Linked DNA regions of Homo sapiens: regions 2, 3, 4, 5 and 6 are each linked to region 1. The links are contacts of gene promoters, found by promoter capture Hi-C in blood cells and fetal thymus (Javierre and others, 2016). All regions are on one chromosome and are shown on one strand. Each heading gives the region's core, a stretch centred on a gene start or on the middle of the fragment in contact. The rest is flanking DNA. Distances are from core to core; before and after follow the strand shown.

The links. The method cuts DNA at HindIII sites, captures the fragments that hold promoters and counts their contacts. A CHiCAGO score of 5 or more calls a contact.
Region 2: a fragment that was not itself captured here is called in contact with the fragment with the promoter of GNL3L in region 1 in 4 of 17 cell types (neutrophils, monocytes, non-activated CD4 T cells and 1 more); the score reaches 14.8 in neutrophils.
Region 3: a contact is called between the fragment with the promoter of TSPYL2 here and the fragment with the promoter of GNL3L in region 1, in 1 of 17 cell types (neutrophils). The highest score is 7.4, in neutrophils.
Region 4: a fragment that was not itself captured here is called in contact with the fragment with the promoter of GNL3L in region 1 in 1 of 17 cell types (neutrophils); the score reaches 9.1 in neutrophils.
Region 5: a contact is called between a fragment that was not itself captured here and the fragment with the promoter of GNL3L in region 1, in 1 of 17 cell types (neutrophils). The highest score is 7.4, in neutrophils.
Region 6: a contact is called between a fragment that was not itself captured here and the fragment with the promoter of GNL3L in region 1, in 1 of 17 cell types (neutrophils). The highest score is 7.3, in neutrophils.

What each region holds. Positions count from the first base shown.
Region 1 is chrX:54,528,662-54,532,002 of GRCh38, reverse strand. GNL3L (G protein nucleolar 3 like) reads right to left here and starts at 1,784. Exons shown (of 16, transcript NM_001184819.2): 1 at 1,584-1,784. RefSeq lists enhancers at 1,379-1,638, 1,649-1,708, 2,159-2,208, 1,863-2,383. The HindIII fragment of the contact is 4,164 bases long and covers 1-3,060 here.
Region 2 is chrX:52,998,156-53,001,496 of GRCh38, reverse strand. No RefSeq gene overlaps it. Among named protein-coding and RNA genes, the nearest start is that of FAM156A, 41 kb to the right of the region's middle. The HindIII fragment of the contact is 8,235 bases long and covers 1-3,341 here.
Region 3 is chrX:53,080,869-53,084,209 of GRCh38, reverse strand. TSPYL2 (TSPY like 2) reads right to left here and starts at 1,843. Exons shown (of 7, transcript NM_022117.4): 1 at 905-1,843. The coding sequence starts at 1,711. RefSeq lists silencers at 1,469-1,518, 1,549-1,598, 1,869-1,978. The HindIII fragment of the contact is 18,116 bases long and covers 1-3,341 here.
Region 4 is chrX:53,216,182-53,219,522 of GRCh38, reverse strand. KDM5C (lysine demethylase 5C) reads left to right here. Exons shown (of 26, transcript NM_004187.5): 3 at 1,125-1,247; 4 at 1,557-1,727; 5 at 2,246-2,380; 6 at 3,326-3,341. Among named protein-coding and RNA genes, the nearest start is that of KDM5C, 7.4 kb to the left of the region's middle. The HindIII fragment of the contact is 2,329 bases long and covers 566-2,894 here.
Region 5 is chrX:53,310,626-53,313,966 of GRCh38, reverse strand. All of the region lies in intron 1 of IQSEC2 (IQ motif and Sec7 domain ArfGEF 2), which reads left to right. Among named protein-coding and RNA genes, the nearest start is that of IQSEC2, 9.1 kb to the left of the region's middle. The HindIII fragment of the contact is 4,367 bases long and covers 1-3,341 here.
Region 6 is chrX:55,710,637-55,713,977 of GRCh38, reverse strand. No RefSeq gene overlaps it. Among named protein-coding and RNA genes, the nearest start is that of RRAGB, 5.4 kb to the left of the region's middle. The HindIII fragment of the contact is 3,713 bases long and covers 1-3,341 here.

The DNA.
Region 1 (3,341 bases), core at 535-3,034:
GGCCTGAGAACAGGGATTCTTACCTGAGTGTCTATATGGATTGAGATAAGTACAAAATCTTGGAGGAGGGGGTAAAAATCTGTGCCTGCATATGCCTGGGGTCTATACCTTGGTGATTTGGGTTGGGGGGATTGCCATCTGTCCCTCTACTCTGGGGTGCAGAGAAACTGGGGAAACCCACAAAGTGGCTGTGTGCATCTCTGCTGCATGGGGAAAGAATCACAGATCTGTTTATCTCTAGATTGTGGGGATGGGTCCTGCGTCTCTTCACCCTGGAGAGGGCTGTGGTACAGGATCGATATGCCTGATTCCACAACTATGCAGCTTTGAATAAGCGGGTCTGCACCTTACCTGCAGTGAGCTATTCTGGACCCTTCTATGGAAGGTGGACTGTGACAACTTTCATCTTTTATGCTGGTTGAAGTCAGCGGCACACTAACACTGAAAGAAATAGGGGCTCTGGTTCTCTGCATGGGTGGTGTGTGGAGGGGGCTGGCAATGCAGCTATAAATTAATAGATCAGCCCTAATACTTGGGGGTGGGGGCGTCTGTGATTCTACCCTGGGTGGAGAGAAACAGATCTGAGCTCCACTACCTTGGGTAAAGGGGAGAGACCATACGCACTGAACTGCCAGGTAATCAGCGATGTCACTCCCTCTCAACATTACAGGGAGGGAGACCTGCATATCTGCTCCTGTGGGGTATCTCCCTTGCTACATTTAGTGATTCTAAATCTTTGGGGGAGGTAGGGGGAGGTAGGGGGATGATCTGTGTCTACCTCAAAGGGAGAGGAACACATCTGAGCCCCTCTACCCCCACGGCCCCTCAAGGGGCAGACCTGACTGTCTCTTCATGGATTAAGGTCTGTTCCTGTTTGCTTCGAAGCATGTTGGGTGCTTCGAAAAATTACACATTCGGTAAAACGGGGGCTACGGAAGTAGGGATCAGGTCTGATTCTCCACAATGGGGACTCACTCTAACCTAAGAGGAGGGGGCAATTGGCTTAGTTGTCCATAAGCTGAGGCCTGTAACTGCAACCACTTTGGGGACGGGTGAGTTGGGGAGCGATACTGAGGGCTCTGAGTCTACGCGTATGGGGAGGAGGTGCCCTCCCTCTGTATATTAAATGTTTCTAAGCTCCTCTATGCTGGTATGGGGGCAGATACATCAAAGCCTCTGTCTGTCCTGAGGAGGTGCCTCGAGACGGCTGTCTAGAGCCAAGCCAAGGAAGTGCCTTAAGTCGGGAGAAGTCTGCGCTGCTCAGCTGGGTGGAGGGAGATGTCTCTACACGGTTGGGGTGGATGTCCCCCATGCCTTTGGTGGGTCGACTCCTGTCTATACAAGGTGAATGCAGAATGAAGCCTCACTATCTTGAGGACGATCAACGCTTCACCACACAAGTGAAGTTTGTGCCTCTCTACACAGTGTGTCCCGGGTCTACACCTTTCTAGGTGGGATGGGGCAATGCCCCTCTCCCGGCAAACTCCACTCCGCGAAAAGGCAATTCGGCGCGTCTCCACGTGTGCCGCGATCCCTGCCCCTCTTCCGGTCCCTTCTACCCTGGAAGGGATCCTGCTGTTTACCTCTCTATTCCAGGTTGGCGGGCATCTCTGGTTTCACATCCAATAGACGATCCTAACTGCCCGGCCGTCTAGGTGAGCGCACATTGTGAGAAAAGAGGAGAGAAGTTTCTTACTTACACTTCCGGCGGGGATCTGAGAAGCGAGGGCAACACGACAACTCGGTTGAGCGAGCAGAAACTCTCGCGCAGCTAGGCTCCGACTTCCGGATCCCAGGCCGGCGGCGCCCGACTCCGCCCACCGTGCGGTCTCCGCGGGGGGGGGGGGGGGGGGGCGGAGCTTCTGACTGACAGCTCACGCCCGCCCGTCCCTTCTTCGCGACCACGCTGGCCCCGCCTCCTGCCTGCCCCGTAGTTAAGGAAATAGCGGAGGAGGGAGAAGGAGGACGGGGAAATGACCGGGAAGAAGCGGCGGGTCGACTGGTGCGGCCATATACCTTACTTGCAAGCCAAAATTTTGTCTGCGGGCATCTGTCTGGGGTTAAATATGCGTGCTCCCAAATCTCAATAACCAGGCAGTCACCACGCCCGAATCAGACAAGGGTGGGGGATGGTGTCTTTGTCTGCCTGGAAGATGGCGACAGCAGGGTGTGAGAAAATGGCCGCCTGGGTCACGTGTCTGGCCGAGTATTTCCCCACCTGAAGTGAATTGGTTAGCTATTCCCAACCACCTTCCCGGGTCCTTGAGCCCCAGACCATCCCTGAGCACTCCTAGCTTTTTCTGCATACGTTCAGATCTATGGCCATACCCAACCCGAGCTGGAGCAGGAGCCAGAACGACTAGAAGCCTCTCCCACACTAGAAGCCTCTCCCACCCTTTTGCCTTCTTCCCCTCCTACTCCATCCTTCCCTCAATCCCGGAGCAGCGTCTGCAGAAGGGAATGAATTTATATCTCTGGAGTGGGGCAAGTAGGGGTTTCTGAAGCCATCTCAAGGAGCTGGCTGGGAAGTGAGGTCTCCCCCACAAAATAGTAAATATTAGTCTGCAAATGTTTTCTTCTTGATGGTTTAATTCCAGCCCCTCCTCTTCCTCAAGCCTAAACCCTGGGGTGGGGCACAGAGTAGGTGGAACTCTGTGCCTCCGAGGGTGGGTTTGTTTCTCCACTTCAAGCACAGACGGGCTGAAAATGACTCCATCTGTCCCTTTATCCCTTACATAAACAGGACTCACTACCTCTCTACATCGTTGGAGGGCTTCTAACCTCTCATCCTAGAGACACATGAAATTCCTCTGGACCTGAAACCAGCCCTGACCACTTTCACCTTTCCCCCTGCATTTGCAATTTTGCTCTGTTTCTCTAAGACCTAACTCTTGTCACTTCGATGAAACCTTCTCTGACTTTCGCAGATGAGTTAGAAACCCAGAGCACCTTACCTATACAGCTAAGCTAGCACTTATCACAATACTGTAGTTGTTTATGTGACTGTGTCTCCACAGGAGGGTGAACTCCCTGAGAGCAGGGGCCATGTATCTTCAAGCTTTCAACAACACCCAGCACAAGACTGGTATGAGGCAGGCTTCAACAACTGTTTGTTAAATGGGTGAGTTTACAGGCCTGCACCACAAAAAATGGGAAATGGGCTGTTTAGTAGATGGCATTGGGAAATTTGGCTCTCCATGAAAAGAAATATAAAACTGGATCTCTATTTATTCCACCTAAGAGGGTAGACTGTGAATGTGAAAGGTAAAACTATGAAGTTAATATATGCAGGAGAATATCTTTGTGACTTGTGACTGGGGAAGGACTTTTTAAACAAAATC
Region 2 (3,341 bases), core at 578-3,077, 1.5 Mb after region 1:
CCTGGCCAACATGGTAAAACCCCGTCCCTACTAAAAATACTAAAAATACAAAAATTAGCCGGGTGTGGTGGTGTGCGCCTGTAGTCTCAGCTACTCCGGAGGCTGGGGCATGAGAATCACTTGACCTGGGAGGTGGAGGTTGCAGTGAGCCGAGTTCGGCCACTGCACTGCAGCCTGGGCAACAGAGCGAGACTCCATCTCAAAAGCAAAAACAGAAAGAAAGAAGAAGAAGAAAAAAAAGAAATGAAAGTCTTGGGCCCCTCCCCAGACCCACTGAATCAGAAACTCTGAAAGGTGAGGCCCAGCAATCTGTGTTTTAACAAGCTCTCTAGGTGATTCTTGATGCACACTAAAGTTTGAGAACCATTAGAGTAATCCACAGGACCTAAGTATGAAATAGCTGGCCCCTCTTGGATCTCACCTCCTGTGAGTGTGCAGCTGGGGATGAGGCGTGGAGGATGTAACATACCATTGCGGGTACCGGAAATGAACACACCATTATGCGAGATACCATAGGGGAAGGGAGCTTCTATTTTGTAAGAATACAAATGCTGTGTGTGGAGGGACAATAAAGCCCACCCCCGCCCACCAACGAAATCAGCCCCACCTTTCGACAGTAGGGCGGGCGCGGCGGCGAGCGCCCCAGGCGGCAATCCGTCCTCCTGGTTTCCACCCAGGCCCAAGCTGACACCCATTCTCCGACTTCTCGGAGACCCCTCTAGTCCCATTTTTGGCCACGCCCGTCTCCGTTCTACAGATCTGAATAAATTAGGAACCTGCAAAGGGGCAGTCGATCGGTTGTGGGACGATCAAGGCAGGAAGGCATCAAGGACCGCTCTGGGAAGCTCACCTAGAGAGTGCGGCTCTTACAGAGTACAGCGGGATGCACTCGTAGAGCCGGGTCCCTGGGTCTTCGCGCTCGCGCACGGTCAGGCACAGTGGCTGATGGGCGGAAGTTCGTAAAGCGGAGCCTGGGCTTTAAGGACTGGATGACCAGTGGGATCCAGTCTTCAAGACTTGGACTGTTGTTCAGTATGAGGCTAAAGATGCTTCCCAAGTCACAGGCAGGGCTTAAGTGAGACCACTCGCAAGGGGTCATCTGGCGCTCAGTGCGCAGGGCTCTAAGTTTTAGGTCATCACAGATCTGACTTGCAGTGTCCCAAGCACTTCTTTCTTATGTGCCATCTCATTTAATCCCCACTAGCACCTTTGGAAGAAAGCCCTGTCACCTCTGTCGCTGATGAGGACACTGGAGCGCCAAGAAGGCAGATCCCTGGCTGGGGCCCTCCAACCAGGGTGGGGCAGAGCTGGGGCCAGATGACAATTCCCGGAGGACCGCAGTTGGGACACTCCCAGCGCTCATGCTGCCCCTGTCCCTCCCAGGGTCCCTTCTCTGTCCTCACAGACCCAGCTGGGCAGTGTCCTCCCATCTCCTGAGGTGACACTCACCCCAGCGCCTCCTTCAGGAATCCCACCCCGCCCCCTCCAGCCCTAGGCGAATTGCCCTGGACTCTCAGTCTGGGTCTGGAGTTTCATCTGGATCTGGGAGACATTTCCAGTTCTGCCCTAACAGGGATGTTGTGACAGAAACCTGTGTGGGGGCAGGAGAGATATCTGTCCTGCAAAATGGTCTGCACTTTCAGGAAGTGCAGGGAGGGTCCTGAGGGGGTCCTCTGAGGTAGGCCTAGGTGCCGGGTGAGAGGACCGAAGTGGGCGTGAGAGGGTATAACTGAGGCCCCATGACTAGGGCTGGGGTAGGGAGGTAGAGGTCCGTGGTGGAAGGGGAGCCCTGGTGGCTCACAAGGGTGGGGAGCTGGGGAGAGAGAGGAGGTGTGGCAGCTGCCAATTGGAGAGGAAGTTTGGGAGAAAGGACCAGAATGCTCAGAAGGGCCATAATGGGGGTTGCCATTGGCAGTGTGAAGGGAGGACCTCTACTCTCTCTCCAAGATCCAGTTCCCCACAGTGGGTGCTGAGAGATGGCAAAGATAACGGGGTCTAGGGGTCTCCTACTGTGTTCTGGGATTTACCCTGAAGCCCCCATGGGGCAAGATACAAAAGTCACCAGGACCAAAGGTGATCAGGGTTGGTCAGACGATGGCCATTCCTGGGAGCCAGATATGAGAGCTTACTCTCTGATCCCCTCAGTCCCAGAGGGTCCTTCCCCATCCCTGGTGTGAACCTGCCTTCCTCATGACAACAACGGTGGTGACTGCAGACTGTGGGGAACTACAAGATCCAAGGCCTCCCCATAACAGTGTTGGATGGCACAGAGATTCAGCATCACACAGCAGCCCTGAGCTGATTCTTTGTGGGTATGTGTACCAGGGTGTAGCTGGTAAGCTCTTTGTGGGTTGGTGTGTGAGGTCCTTGAGTTATTGTGAGCTGTTACCTTGAGGTAGGAATTCTCTGAGCTGGTTGGGGGTCTGTGTCCTGAGGTGTGGCATCTTTGAGCTGTTTGGTGGTTGGTGTCTAGGGTGAGAGGTCTCTGAACTGCTTGTGGGCACTGTCCTAAGGCATGAGATCTTTGAACATTTTTGTGGGAGGTCTTTGTCCAGAAGGTTAGGTCTCCGAGCTGCTCATATATCAGGATATTTTTGTGAGGAAGGCAGGATGGTCCTTTCTCTCACAGGGGTAGAACAAGGTGCCCTGGTATCAGAGAGATGAAAACATAGGATCCTTATCCTTAGGGAGGGCAAGTCCTCAGTGTAGCATGTAGGAGCCAGTGGTACAAATACTAATGACAATGTCTGCAGACATTAACCCCATCCTTGCTCAGGGCCGACCCCTGTGACAAACCCATGTAACCCATGTTAACTCAATCTGCCAAATTGCCAATGAGGAGCTCACCATTTGCAGATGAGGAGGCTGAAGCCAAGTGAGGGTAGGGCCTGTGCTCACACAGTCCTCATGAAGAGGGAGGAACTGGCTGTAACTTGGACTCACTGGAGGAGACAGGGAAAGGCTCAGGCACAGCCGGGGTCAATGGGAGATGACAAGGAAAGGGGAAAGGAAGAGGTTTGCCCAGGGCCTCAAGGGCCCCATCACTGACTCACTGGTGGGAGGTCTGCCTCTCTGTCTCTCTGTCGCACACCCTGCTTGGTAATGGATGTTGAGAATGCAATCCTCACGTTACCTGTGGAAGTGGTGGCATGAGGTAAAGAGTGGGGAAATACCACAGATTCATCCATTGGCATGAGGTCCACCAGCAAATGTAGAGATTCCTACCTCTTCTTCCCCCTTGAAAGAATTTTTTTCAGGCCAGGCATGGTGGCTCACGCCTGTAATCCCAGCACTTTTGGGAGGCCGAGGCAGGCAGATGGCTTGAGCCCAGGAGTTCAAAA
Region 3 (3,341 bases), core at 594-3,093, 1.4 Mb after region 1:
TTGTATGTATGGGTGTTGAAGGTCCATGTCCACATGATGTGTGAATGGCTCTGATGGCTTGTGGTCAAGTTATGCCATGTGTCTACATGCTGAGGACCTGTGGTCACATAATACTGTGTCTAGGAGCTGAGGTCCTATGTCTAAATGATATTGTATGCCTGGGTGCTAAGGGCCTCTTACCATGTGCTGTTTCATATGAGGGCTAAGGGTCTGTATCCACATAATTCTATTAGGATGTTCGACTCATGTTCCTAACATGTTACATGTATGTGTATGTGTCTACTCTCCCCTTTCCTTCATTTAACTCCTTTTTCTCTATACCTAGACACTCCCTCTCTTGATCTTTCAGGGGCTCCAGCCCCCCTCCCTCCAATGCAAGGCACTCCAGCCAGGATTGGGGTCTCCTAGTATCTTAAGCAAAAATCTAGGTTTACAGAGCCTTGTATGGCTCAAGCACCCTTTCTGGGCAGTTTCTCTGCTGTGTGCCATTCCCCTCCCTCTTCAAGGTCTCTGAGTCAGTTCATCTTCTACGTGCCCCTCCCCTCCTCCTTTCACCATCTCTGGTCCAATTTTTTTGCTGTGTGCCCCTTTACTACCCTCCCCCTTTTTATCATCTGTGATCCTTTTTTTAATGCTATGTTCCTCCTCTTCCCCCTTTCCCATCTGTGGTCCAGTTTTTATGTCCGCCCCCCCTCCACCACCCTTCATCATCTCCAGTCCAGCTTCTCTGCTGTTTTGCCCTCCTCCTTCCATCCCTCTTCCACCCAGTCTAGTCCGTCTTCCGATAGGGGGATCATGCCCACCTCTGGCTCTCCTCCACCCGCTTTACCTTTTCTGTCCCTCCCCCACCTTCCCCTTTCCTGTCACGGGCTTCTGACCTACGGAGTATCGATTAGAAGGATACTGCTTTGACCCAGAAGCCTGGGATATGCTGGATGATGAGGTCTCTGCGCTCCAGGAAGGGTCTTCGCATCTGGATGAACTTGCGCTTGAGACGCAGGAAGGCTTTGCCTGCCTTGATGTTCACTGCCTCCAGATCCAGCTGAATATCCTCCAGTGCCTGCAGGATGCTCTCCATCCTCTCGGCATTTCTCTCTCTGCTTTCCCTCTTCACCTTCCTCTGCTTCCTCCTCCGCCGCCGCCGCCGCCTCCTGCTGCTCCTCATACTCTCCCGCTCATCCTCATCCTCATCCTCCACTATGATGATCGCCTCTTCCTTGCTCTTCGGGTCAACTAACCTCTGGGGCGCCCACCCCACTGCGCTACAGGTTTCTAGGGCCCCCTCTCCACCAAAACTGCTCGACTGTACAACCTGAAAATCGATTTCCAGGCTCCCCCCCGAGGCCTCAGGAGTGGGGAGTGCTTCCAGGCTCTCCGTGGGCGGGGGCGCCTCCCCATACCCCGACTCGATGGTAGAATCCCAGCCGGGACACTCAGCACCGAGCGTGAAGTATGCGCGGATCCCCCCCTCCTCGAGAATGACATAGGGAGGCGGCGGGGGCAGCGCGGGGCCCAGTCCCACCCCCCTCATATCGGCCAGCACCTGTGCCGCCTCCGTTTCCTCCTGGAGCCTCGGGCGCTGCTGGGGTGGAGGCAGCGGCAGTCGGAGGAGCGGCGGCGGCGGCGGCGGCGGGGGCGGGTCGCGCTGTGGAGACTCGGAGCTGCTCAGGCGGCGGGTCTTGGCCGGAGGCCCCTCATCTGGGCGGTCCATGGCGACCGCGTTCGTACAGCTCAGGGGACTCGCACTCGCCCCTTCGCTTTTAGCCGCGTCGCTGCCGCTAGTCGCACCGGTAAGCAGAGCTGAGGAGACTCACGCAACCAGCTCTCCTCACCACCTCGCTCTGGCGTTCCCTCCCACAGCGCCCGCTCTACTCCCTCCGCGCCAATCGCCGAAGCCCCGCCCACTCCTGACGCAGGGGTCCGCTCGGCCTGGCCATTGGCTGCCGGCCGCCGCGGCGGCGATCGCGCTCCCGCGACCCCTGCCCGCTCTCACGCAATCCGCTTGCCAACACCACACATCATCAGTTTCCGATTGGCTCCCCTCGGGCCCGCCAATCAACGGGCTGACTCCCTCAGCGACGGGAGGGAAACTGCAGGGCGATTGGCTGCGAGGAAAGCTGGGGAAGAAGCCCCTCTCCCTCACCCTCTCAGCGTTTTATCCAATGGGAAAAGTACCAGTGGTTCTGAAGACCAAAAAACGAGACGAAAAACAAACGCAGGCGCTGAGCAGGATGTGCTCACATGAAATTGGAAGAGCCTCGTTATCGTTCCCCCCGCCCCCCTCCCCTCAGCAACTACGCACTTTTAAAATCTGCCCCTTCCCCCATTTCCTTCAGCTCCTTCCCCCACCCCCGCTTCTGCCCCTTCCCCCATCCCGGGTCCTGCCCCTTCCCCCATCCCAGCTCCTGCCCCTTCTCCCACCCCCGCTTCTGCCCCTTCTCCCATCCCCCACTGCTGCCCCTTTTTCCATCCCCGCTTCTGCCCCTTCCTCCACTCCCCGTTTCTGTCCCTTCCCCCACCCCCCGTTTCTGCCCCTTCCCCCATCCCCCGCTTCGGCCCCTTCCCCCACCCCACCCCCGCTTCTGCCCCTTCACCCCCCGCTTCTGCCCCTTCCTCCCCCGCTTCTGCCCCTTCCCTCACCCCCCCTTCTGCCCCTTCCCGCATTCCCTGCTTCTGACCCCCATCCCCCAACTGTCTCTTCCCTCACCCCCACTTCTGCCCCTTCCCCTATCCCCCAACTTCTGCCCCTTCCTTCACCCCCCAACCCCACTTCTGCCCCTTCCCTCACCCTCCCGCCCTCCGCTTCTGCCCTTCCCCTATCCCCCAACTTCTGCCCCTTCCCTCACACAACCCCTGCCCCCCGCCCCCCCGCTTCTGCCTCTTTTCCTACCTTCCACTTCTGCCCCTTCCCCCACCCCCCACGTTTGCCCCCTGGGTGAACTCTGCTGTAGCTCCTCGGGGGCTCGGGCTGCCCTACCGCCTGCGCCTGCAATTTAGGCACCCAGGGTGTTTGGTTTGGGGGCCAGGTTTTGACGTGGCGTTTTCCATCTCCGCAAAATGGCTCTACAAATAATAATCACACACACAAAAAAGTAACTTCCTCTGCGTCATAAAAATGATTGTGATTCAGCTCATCTGCTAGAATTTTCTAGCACTTTCTGTCTCTTCATTTCTCCCCCTTTCCATCCTTTCCTCTCCCTTTCCCCAGTGTATGCTGTATTTTAAGATTTTTCTTTTTAAACCAGAGATGGATGGTCTTTTGTGAGGCATGGTGGTGGAGGGCTGGCTTTGGTGCTGGGATTCACATCATGGGTGTGCCCCTCATTTTGTAACCTTAACCA
Region 4 (3,341 bases), core at 481-2,980, 1.3 Mb after region 1:
TTACTGAGATTTCAGGGAAGCATCATACATATCTTGTTTCTAGTCTCCTTGGCCCACATTGGGTCCTGGGTTGGCCAGGTGCTAGTGCTACTCTGATATACCATCTCTTAGTTCTAGGCCATTCTGTCTATAGTTATAGCATGCACTTTCACCCTTTAGCCACCATGGAACAAGTTTGGTGGTACATAAGGAGGTGCATGTGCCTTTTTGGAGCTTGCTTTCTCTGAAACATGCCTAGAGCTTAGATATAATTCTGAAATCTGCAGAGGATCTTCACTGGTCCCCTCATTAAGTCTACCCCTCTGGGGTAAGTGGACTGTGCAGTTATTTTCCTTTTATAATTATTAGTAAAAGGAAAAAGGAGTCCACAGTGGAACTGATTTGCTCAAGGCAGCATAGCAAATCAGTAGCAGAGGGAGAGCCAAAGCTCAAATTATTTGGCACCAAAATATCTTGATGCTTGCTGTGTGTCCTAACTCCTCTGAGCCTCTGTTTCCTCATCTGTATAGGAGATGATAATACTCACATGACCTTGTCAGGGAGATTAGAGGACATATCTAAAGCTTTTGGCAGTTGTGACCCTCTCTATTGGGACCTTGGGCTTCTCTGATTGACTGGAAGGTGACAAATGAGAGAGAGGTGGCTGGGTGCAGTGGTGCAGTGGCTTGTGCCTGTGATCCCAGCTCTTTGGGAGGCCGAAGTGGATGGATTGCTTGAGCTTAGGAGTTTGAGACCAGCCTGGTAACATGGTGAAACTTCATTGCTACAAAAAATACAAAATTAGCCGGGCGTGGTGGCGTGCGCCTATAGTTCCAGCTACTCAGGAGGCTGAGGCAGGAGGATCACTTGAGCCCAGGAGGTCAAGTCTACAGTCAGCCGTGATTGCACCACTCCATTCCAGCTTGGGCGACAGAGCAAGACCGTCTCAAAAAAACAAAAACGAAAGAAATGAGAGTGAGGTGGGGCTAAGCACTGCCTAGAGTCTGGGATCCGGTTCATTGGGAGAAACCCTGGGTAGTGAAAGTGTGGAGTGCTGTATTCCTCTGTTCTCCCCTAAGACTGGACCCAAAGATAGTGGTCAGTGGGAGGGGGTGGCCAGCCTCTTTGAGCCATTTCTTCTTCAGGCCCAGACGAGAGTGAAACTGAACTACTTGGACCAGATTGCCAAATTCTGGGAAATCCAGGGCTCCTCCTTAAAGATTCCCAATGTAGAACGGCGGATCTTGGACCTCTACAGTCTCAGCAAAGTAAGAACAGGTTTTTGTCAAGCACCCCTCCCACCAAACCCCAATATCCTTGATACTCTGGGGGCCCCCTTAGTTTGGATATTAGATCTTTAGGCTGCAATGGAAGGGGCACAGCTTGGTAGCACACAAGCTGTCATCAGAACATCTTGGAATCTTTTGCTGCAATTTGAGGTTGGGATAAGGGGATAGCCCCCAGTGAAGTGAGGGACTAGAGTTGCCCTCATTGCCCTTTTGCCCTTTCTACAGGCCTACTCCCTCACATATAAATACACGTGGCACATCCATGTCTTTTCCTACTTGTTTTTTCAGATTGTGGTGGAGGAAGGTGGTTATGAAGCTATCTGCAAGGACCGTCGGTGGGCTCGGGTAGCCCAGCGCCTCAACTATCCACCAGGCAAAAATATTGGCTCCTTGCTACGCTCCCACTACGAACGCATTGTTTATCCCTATGAAATGTACCAGTCTGGAGCCAACCTTGTGGTAAGGATGTCACAGTGGGGCAGGGTGCGGCTTTACCCTTCAGCACAGATTTCCACACTTGCTCTTAATGAAACTGGTTTAGTGGACTGGAGACCTGGGAGTTGGACTCTGCTCTTTCCTAGTGATGCTTATTCTCTTTCTACACTGCTCAGGGTCAGAGGTCCTGGAGTTATCTGTACGGCTAGCTTATTTGTTATGTGACAAAGTTTTAACTGATAGAGAAATCAGAGAAGGGAGAGCTTGGGCTAGAAGGTGTGGGAAGAGATGGCGTCTGATTTAGTTGGGGAGATGGTTGGTGGAGGAAGTGACTGGAAGGGAGGAGTGATACAAGCAAAGGTACTGAGAATTCCCAAAATGTGTGCTGGTGTCAGTGCTAAAGACCAGTGGAACAGGGGCTGTTGGTGTGGGTCAGGTGAGTGGACCACAGCTTTGGATGCCATTGGGTGAGGGTAGAGGGAAGTTATTGCTTTTGCGGGCTGGAGTCCATGTCCTGACCCTTACCCCTTACCTGTCCCCAGCAGTGTAACACACGTCCATTTGATAATGAGGAGAAGGACAAGGAATACAAACCCCACAGCATCCCCCTACGACAGTCTGTGCAGCCTTCCAAGTTCAACAGCTATGGCCGGCGGGCCAAGAGACTGCAGCCTGATGTGAGTACTCCCCTTCTTCGAACTTAGAGCTTTGAGGTGGAGGGAGTCCTCTCCTTCCTTCTGGCTAAGGCTGTGTTCCCTGTTCCATTATCCCTTCTTTTGTTCTCTGAGTTCTTCTGAGCATTAGTGTGCCTCTCTCTGGCTTCACTCTTGCTTTTTTCTCCCCTCTCAGCTGAGCTGCTGAGCTGGGTCTTGATCTGTTTGTGCAACCTCTTTTGTATGTCTGCTCTTCTTGCCTGTTTTGTTCCTTTCCGGACTTACTCTGCTCATAGAAGTAGAACTCTTCTTTCTCTTTATACCTGTATCTTTTGTTTTGTTTTGTTTTGAGGCATAGGGTCTTGCTATGTCGCCCAGACTGGAGTACAGTGGCTATTCACAGGCTTGATCATAATGCACTATAATCTTGAACTCCTAGGCTTGAGTGATCCTCTCACCTCAGCCTCTGGAGTAGCTAGGACTACAGGTGTGTACCACTGTTCCCAGCTCCTTGTAGCTATGTCTTCAGGCAGAAGCTTATGTGCCAGGCATTCTTGGCACTGGGAATACAATAGAGAACAAGATGGACACTGTCCCTGGGCTCATCGAAGCATGTAATTTAGCAGATCCTATTAGACTGCCATTTGTTGGTAATGCCAAACACTGTTAGCTTTTTCATATGTATTGTCCCTAACCCCCCTCATAACTATAAGGGAGGAGGTAATATTCTCATTTTACAGTTGGGAAAACTGAGATATCCTGTCTTTTATTCCTTTCTGAGAGAGGGCCGAGGGGGCAGCTCACCTACCCTCAGTCTCCAAAAAGCAACTCTGAGTTCTTGGCTTAGCCCATCTGTGCCTCAGCCCTCAGCATGAGATCAGGTGATATGTAGTCCGAGTTACTGTTCTTTTAGGATGGGACAGTCTGCCCCAGATAGCAGTCTTGATTCATTTCCTTCTTTCCTTCCAGCCGGAACCCACAGAGG
Region 5 (3,341 bases), core at 598-3,097, 1.2 Mb after region 1:
CATGCTCCCTGGAGCCATTTTGGCCTTTGCTGTCTCTTCTCACGCTCACCAGCCTTCCGATTCATAGAATGTCAAGGTAGCAGACTTGGACGAGACTTTGGAGACATTTAGACCAATCTGCTGATCATTATCTCTCCCTGCCATGTCAGGCTGTGGTCCTGACCCTCGATGCCAAGTCTTCTGTTCTGAAAGGAGCAAAGAGGCCTGCACAGGACCTGTGTGCAGTTCACTCAGCCCAGTGGGAAGTTGCTTATTTATCCATCAAACCTTTCTTGAGCTCAGACCCTGAGCTGGACATGGTATCTCAGGGTTGACATAAGACTTGGCCCCTCTGCCTCACTCACTGCAGTGTTCCCTGGCAGGATCATAAACATTGGTCATGGGGAAGAATGCTTAGTAAGTGACTTACTTCCTCTTTTGGGGAAGCTCGTTTAGGGCAACATAATTTGCCAGTTACTATAACTTCCTCATGGTATTTGGTTTCTCTCCAAGCCTGCCTGTTGGAAGCATTTACACGGGGAAGCCCATTCCCCAGTGCTTAGTAGCTGAAGCTCTCTGGGACCTTAGCATTCAGAGAAAGTGTGGTGCCATGGAAGGACTTTGTGTAACTCTAGGCAAATCACTTCACTTTCAGAGCCTCAGTTTTCTCAAGTAGTAAATAGGAATAAAACTGTATTTTCTGATGCATGAGATTCATGTTGCCAGCCCCCTACCTCCCTCAAAAAAATTGTATCAGAAAATTTCCTGGCTGCCTGGCATACCGTACATCAAGGTCCTGATCAGGCTGGAAAGCTGAGAATGGAAAATAATACATGAGACTGCCCTGCCCCCTAGAGGCGGAATGTGGCAAACACACAACAATGCAAAGACCGATGCATCGCATCCCTTTCAAAACAAAGATGACAAGCCAGAGCTACACGGCTGATCAGGATTATTCCTCCAACATTTTAGATGTAAATGTATCACTATCATCACCTAATAGGTACCATTTCACTAATGTTTCACTAGTGCATTTCGTTGGAGCGATGTGATTTTTATACCTTTTTAAAGGAGTGATAGGACTGCATATCCAGGCCCTGTGATTTCCTGCTGGATTCCAGGATACAGCATACTGCATTCACCTGAATAAAACCAATATTTTCCTTCATATAACCACTTTAGAATTATTGTCATTATATCTGTGATGAAAAGTACCTAACTTGGCTCTTCCCCCACATTTTCTTATAAATCTGAGAGGCATCTCTCACAACTGTATATCTGATATGCCAGCCAATTCATAAACAACCCATCTCATTGTGATGGTTGTGAAAATTAAATAAGATGACGTAGGTGAAGCGCTGAGCACACAGTATGTGTTTACTCAGCGATAGCCATTATTATTAATAATAACTCTGTAAAGCTCTGTGCTGTGGGAGGACAGGAGGAGAAACCATGTGGCAGCTCACCACATTTCAGAGAGAGAGGTCAGTCCAGTGAACATTGCATGCCAGGATGTGCCATGCCTTGTGCCATCACAGGCAGAGAATTCTATGATTAGTATATAGTTCCTGGCTTCAAGGTGCTCATAATTGGGTGGAGAAGGTGGTGGTGGAAATAGACGATTGCAGTGTGCTATCCAGTGTGTCATGCCAGAGGGGAGCACAGGGGGCCACAGGTGCTCAAAGGAGAGACATCACCCTGGACTGTCAGGGAAGGCTTACTGGAGGAGGTGATACCTGAGCTGAGGCTTGGAGGATGAGTTTGAGTTAGCTAGGTGAAGAAGGACAGCATGTGGGTTGGTGGGAATTGGGGGCAAAAGGGAGGTTAAGGCAGAGGGGCCAGCATGAGCAAACACACAGAGGTATGGGCCCAGCAGGATATGTGTATGGGGAGGTTTTTTGTTTGTTTGTTTTGTTTTTTTATGAGTTCAGTACAAACTAGAGCACAAACAGAGAGACTCGCAGGGGAGTCTGGAGGGTTGGCCGGCTCACATCTTGAGGACACTTCACTAGCAGCGTCAGGAGCTTTCTGCTGTTTTGTTTTTGTGTTGTTTTTGTTTTTATTTTTTTGAGACGGAGTTTTGCTCTTTCGCCCAGGCTGGAGTGAAGTGGCGTGATCTCAGCTCACTGCAGCCTCTTCCCCGCCCCAGGTTCAAGCAATTCTCCTGCCTCAGCCTCCCGAGTAGCTGGGATTACAGGCGTGTGCCACTATGCCTGGCTAATTTTTGTATTTTTAGTAGAGACAGGGTTTTGCCATATTGGCCAGGCTGGTCTCAAACTCCTGACCTCAGGTGAGCCACCTGCCCTGGCCTCCCAAAGTACTAGGATTACAGGCATGAGCCACCATGCCTGGCCAAGTAGCATTTTAAACTGGGGGAGAGGTGCTTATTGTGGTGTGGGAGAACATGTCAAGAGCCACGTTTTGGAGAGATCCCCCTAGAGGGCAGTTTGGAAGATAGATTGGAGGGTATCCAGGGAGGAGGCTGGTACAGCAGTCTAGATGAGAGATGATCAGGCCTGTGCTTGGGCAGTGGGAGTAGAGATAACCTATGTGGGGAGAAAGATGATGATGGAGGGGAGCGCAGCCTGCTCTGGAAGCTCAGAGGAGTGGCAGCGTTCATGACCAGTAGGGTTTTAATAATACCAGCATAGAAATCAAGAAATCACAAGTTGGAAGGACTCTGACAAATCATCCAACTGAAGCTATTCATTTTACAGATGAAAAGACTGAGGCCCAGAGAGAGAAAGGACTTGTATAAGGCCAGTCAGGGTGTGAGCAGAAAAGAGAACGCTGATTAGAAGAGTCACCCTAGTATGAATGCCAGCATTCAGAGCATCTTTTCTTTTCTTTTCTTTTTTTTTTTTTTGAGATGGAGTCTCTCGTTCTGTCACCCAGGCTGGAGTGCAATGGCGCGATCTCGGCTCACTGCAACCTCCGCCTCCTGGGTTCAAGGGATTCTCCTGCCTCAGCCTCCCGAGTAGCTGGGATTACAGGCATGCACCACCACACCCAGCTAATTTTGTATTTTTAGTAGAGACAGGGTTTCTCCATGTTGGTCAGGCTAGTCTCGAACTCCCGACCTCAGGTGATCCGCCCACCTCGGCCTCCCAAAATGTTGGGATTACAGGTGTGAGCCACTGCGCCCAGTGCATCTTTTCTTAAATGTGCTGTTCTCTTTCTCCCCCTAGCTCAGGCCCAGCCTTCTTTCTGCTGTTTTTTGTCTTACGTGGCTTCATTTACTGTAACTGAGGCAGCTCAGAGGCAGTTTCTGGCCTGACAGCCAGGTCTCTCATCCCTGTTTTTCTGTTTTCATGGAAGAGGGTGGACCTGTGTCTGTCTTTAGTATATCCCCATTACCTTGG
Region 6 (3,341 bases), core at 311-2,810, 1.2 Mb before region 1:
AATAAAATACCAAGGTTCCTCAACCATTTGAATGTGCTTTCTCCTCGGCCAGGGCACTCTTTAAAAATGTATCCTGAGTGACTTTCTGGCCATGACAGGAAGTAGGGGTCAAACATGCCTCATTATATTTCTCCAGCTTTAACATCAACACAGACCTTTAAATCTGATAAGAAGCATTTACATTCTATTCTTTCTGAACCTGCAGGCTTCCTGCATGATTAAACTTTAGTCTCCACAACCTCTTATCTTAACCCAAACATTCCTTTCTATTGATCCTAGGTCTTTAAACTCAACCAATTGTCAACCAGAAATTTTTTCAATCTACCTATAAGCTGGAAGCCCCCCTCCCACCCCCACTCCGAGTTGTCCCACCTTTCTGGGCCAAACCCATATATTTCTTACATGTATTTGACTGAAGTCCCTTGTCTCCCTAAAATGTATAAAACCAAGCTGCACCGCAGCCACCTTGGGCACTTGTTTTCAGGATCTCCTGAGGACTGTATCACAGGCCATGGTCACTCCTATTTGGCTCAGAATAAATCTCATCAAATGTTTTCCAGAGTTTGACTCTTTGTTGACACTATATAGTCCAGCAGTTCAGATTCTGGTTTCTACCCAGGTACCTTTGGCTGCTTATTTTTCACATTTTTATTCTTAAAAAAAAAAAAACCCTTACATACATAGGAAGCGGAGGTCACTTTTTATTTTTGTTGAATTAATTTTTAAACATTTAATTATAGGTTCTTTTCAGAAAGTGTGAACTAAGCTCTATTACTCACACATTCATTCAACAAATGTTTATTGAGCAGCCTTTCGGTGCCAGGAACTGTGTTGGACAGCAGGGATACAAACATCACTCTATTTCAGGTTCCACTGCCTGTCAGATGCTTCTGTCTTAACACCTCAGCTCCACTATACTCACACAAACATCAGCATTCCCTTTGTCTAGATCCCAACACATATATTTTTTTAACCATCCATCTCAGCAAGAAAAAGTAATACAGGCCCCCAACAAATCCTTTAATAAGTTTCATTTTATGCCCTAAATTCAATCTAGTTACCTGTATCTGCAAACATACTCCTGAGTCTCCAATACTCAAACTGTCACTCATAAGTTGCCTGCCCTTCTCCTCCTCCACCTTTCCCTTCTTCCTCTTTTTCCATAGCTCACTGCTACTTCCCAGAGCTCCTTAAGTTTACTCCTACATACTGCTAGCAGCTCTTTTCTCCCCATTCCCACATCATGGCTTAAAATATCACAAAATGTTCTATTTAACAAGATTTAACGACTTGATTGATGAAAACTTAATGTGGGGACTTTCAGTTTCCAATCCTACATATAAGGAGCTTAAAAGTCACCACTCCATGTTAACAATAAGTAAAAAACTGAACAAACTGAAAAATCAACAATTAGTCTTAATTCCTTTAGAGAAGTGAGGCCACAGGACACACAGCTGCTGCCAGAATTGGGGAGAGAGGCAAATACAGATAATGACAAGTTTCCAGACCAAAATTCCATGAGCAGAAGCCTCCATGGGAGCCATTACCTAGGTAGAAAAACCTGAACTGTCAGAGGTATTTGAACCAGAGCAACTCCATCTTTAGTAGGGGCTGGGTAGAATAAGGCTGAGACCTGCTGGGCTGCATTCCCAGACAATTAAGGCATTCTAAGTTACAGGATGAGATACAAGGTCAGCACAAGATACAGGTCATAAAGACCTTGCTGATAAAACAGGTGGCATTAAAGAAGCCGGTTAAAACTCACCAAAACAAAGATGGTGACGAGAGTGACCTCTGGTTGCCCTCACTGCTACACCAACCAGCACCATGACAGTTTACAAATGGCATGGCAATGTCAGGAAGTTACTCTATAAGGTCTAAACAGGGGATGCATGAATAATCCACCCCTTGTTTAGCATATCATCAAGAAATAACCATAAAAATGGGCAACCAGTGCCCCTTGGGACTGCTCTGTCTATGGAGTAGCCGTTCTTTTATTACTTTACTTTCCTAATATCTTGCTTTCACTTTATGGACTTGTCCTGAATTTTTTCTTACAACCACCAAAGGGACTATACTGCAGAAACACCTAACCCAAAGACTAACTTTGGGTAAGTGGTGGGGTCTAGTAACATCTTTTTGACAAACCTCGAAGGGACAATACTGAAGAAACAACCCGACCAAAAGGAAATAAACTGCAGCACTGATTGTCCCATTTTGGGTAAGTGGTGGGGTACCCAGGTAAAGGACGCGATTGGGTTAGAGGCCCAATTTAGAGGAGTTAAAGTCTCTCATAAGACAGAGTGGGTTAGAGGCCCCTCTTAATAAAAGGCAAGGACACTTGACCAACCTTGGGTTAGAGGCCCAACTTAGGAAAATTAGGTTCCCTTCTAAGACTTAGGGGGTTAGAGGCTCCTCTCAGTAAATTCCCTTTTGGCTAAGAATGAGTTTGGCACTACAGGATGTTAACTGCTATTATCTTTGGAATAATCTGCCTTGCACCCTTTGCTGTGGGTGACAGGATTAGGCATGTACAGGATAGTGGGATATGGGGGGCTTTTTTCTCCCCAAAAACGAGAAAGTTGAGAGCTGATGGGACTGCTGGAAAATATGCCTTCACAACTGAAAAGCGCCCATCTGAACTTTTGATTCAGTGTGGCTGCAGGGGGTGGGTCTTTTGCTTTACCTCCCTGAGTTCTTCACCTTCCCCACCCTGCCACAGGCAATGCTTTTCTTTCTCTCCCTTCTCTTTCCTATCTTTTCTATTACTCAGGGTGACCATCTTGCCCAGAGACCACAAGTTGAAACTCCTGGTCAGAGGTTGGATTAATGATAATGGGGCCCAACCAGGGGCAAGTTTGGGCCTTGCCAGTTTGATATTGCACAGTGGCTAATGTCTATGTTTTGTCATATGTATTTTGCTCTGGCCAGAACAGAAAATGATAATTTTCCTTAGTGTTGCAGCTTGGCCCCCAGGGCTATGGTGCAGGAAGCCGGGTCACTAGGTTGAATCAGGGAAAGGAAACCCAGAAGCCTGGCATGCTGGCAAAAGAGCAAGAATTTCTTATGAGTCAGACTTCTGGTCTCTCTCTCTCTCCCCCCGCTCCCCCGTGCAAACCAGTTGAAAGAATGGTAAAAATAACTGTTTATTTCCTGTGTAATGTTTGATTAATGGATAAAAAGGATTTATGAGGATTTGTGAGGCTAGTCTTAAGCTGTAGCAAATCTGGCATTCTTTGTATGTCTTTCTGTATTGTTCTGTCATAAAAGAGGAGTACCTTAGGATGGAACATGGCCCTAGGACCCCAGAGCCCACTATTCAAGATGGCCCAGAAAACTGG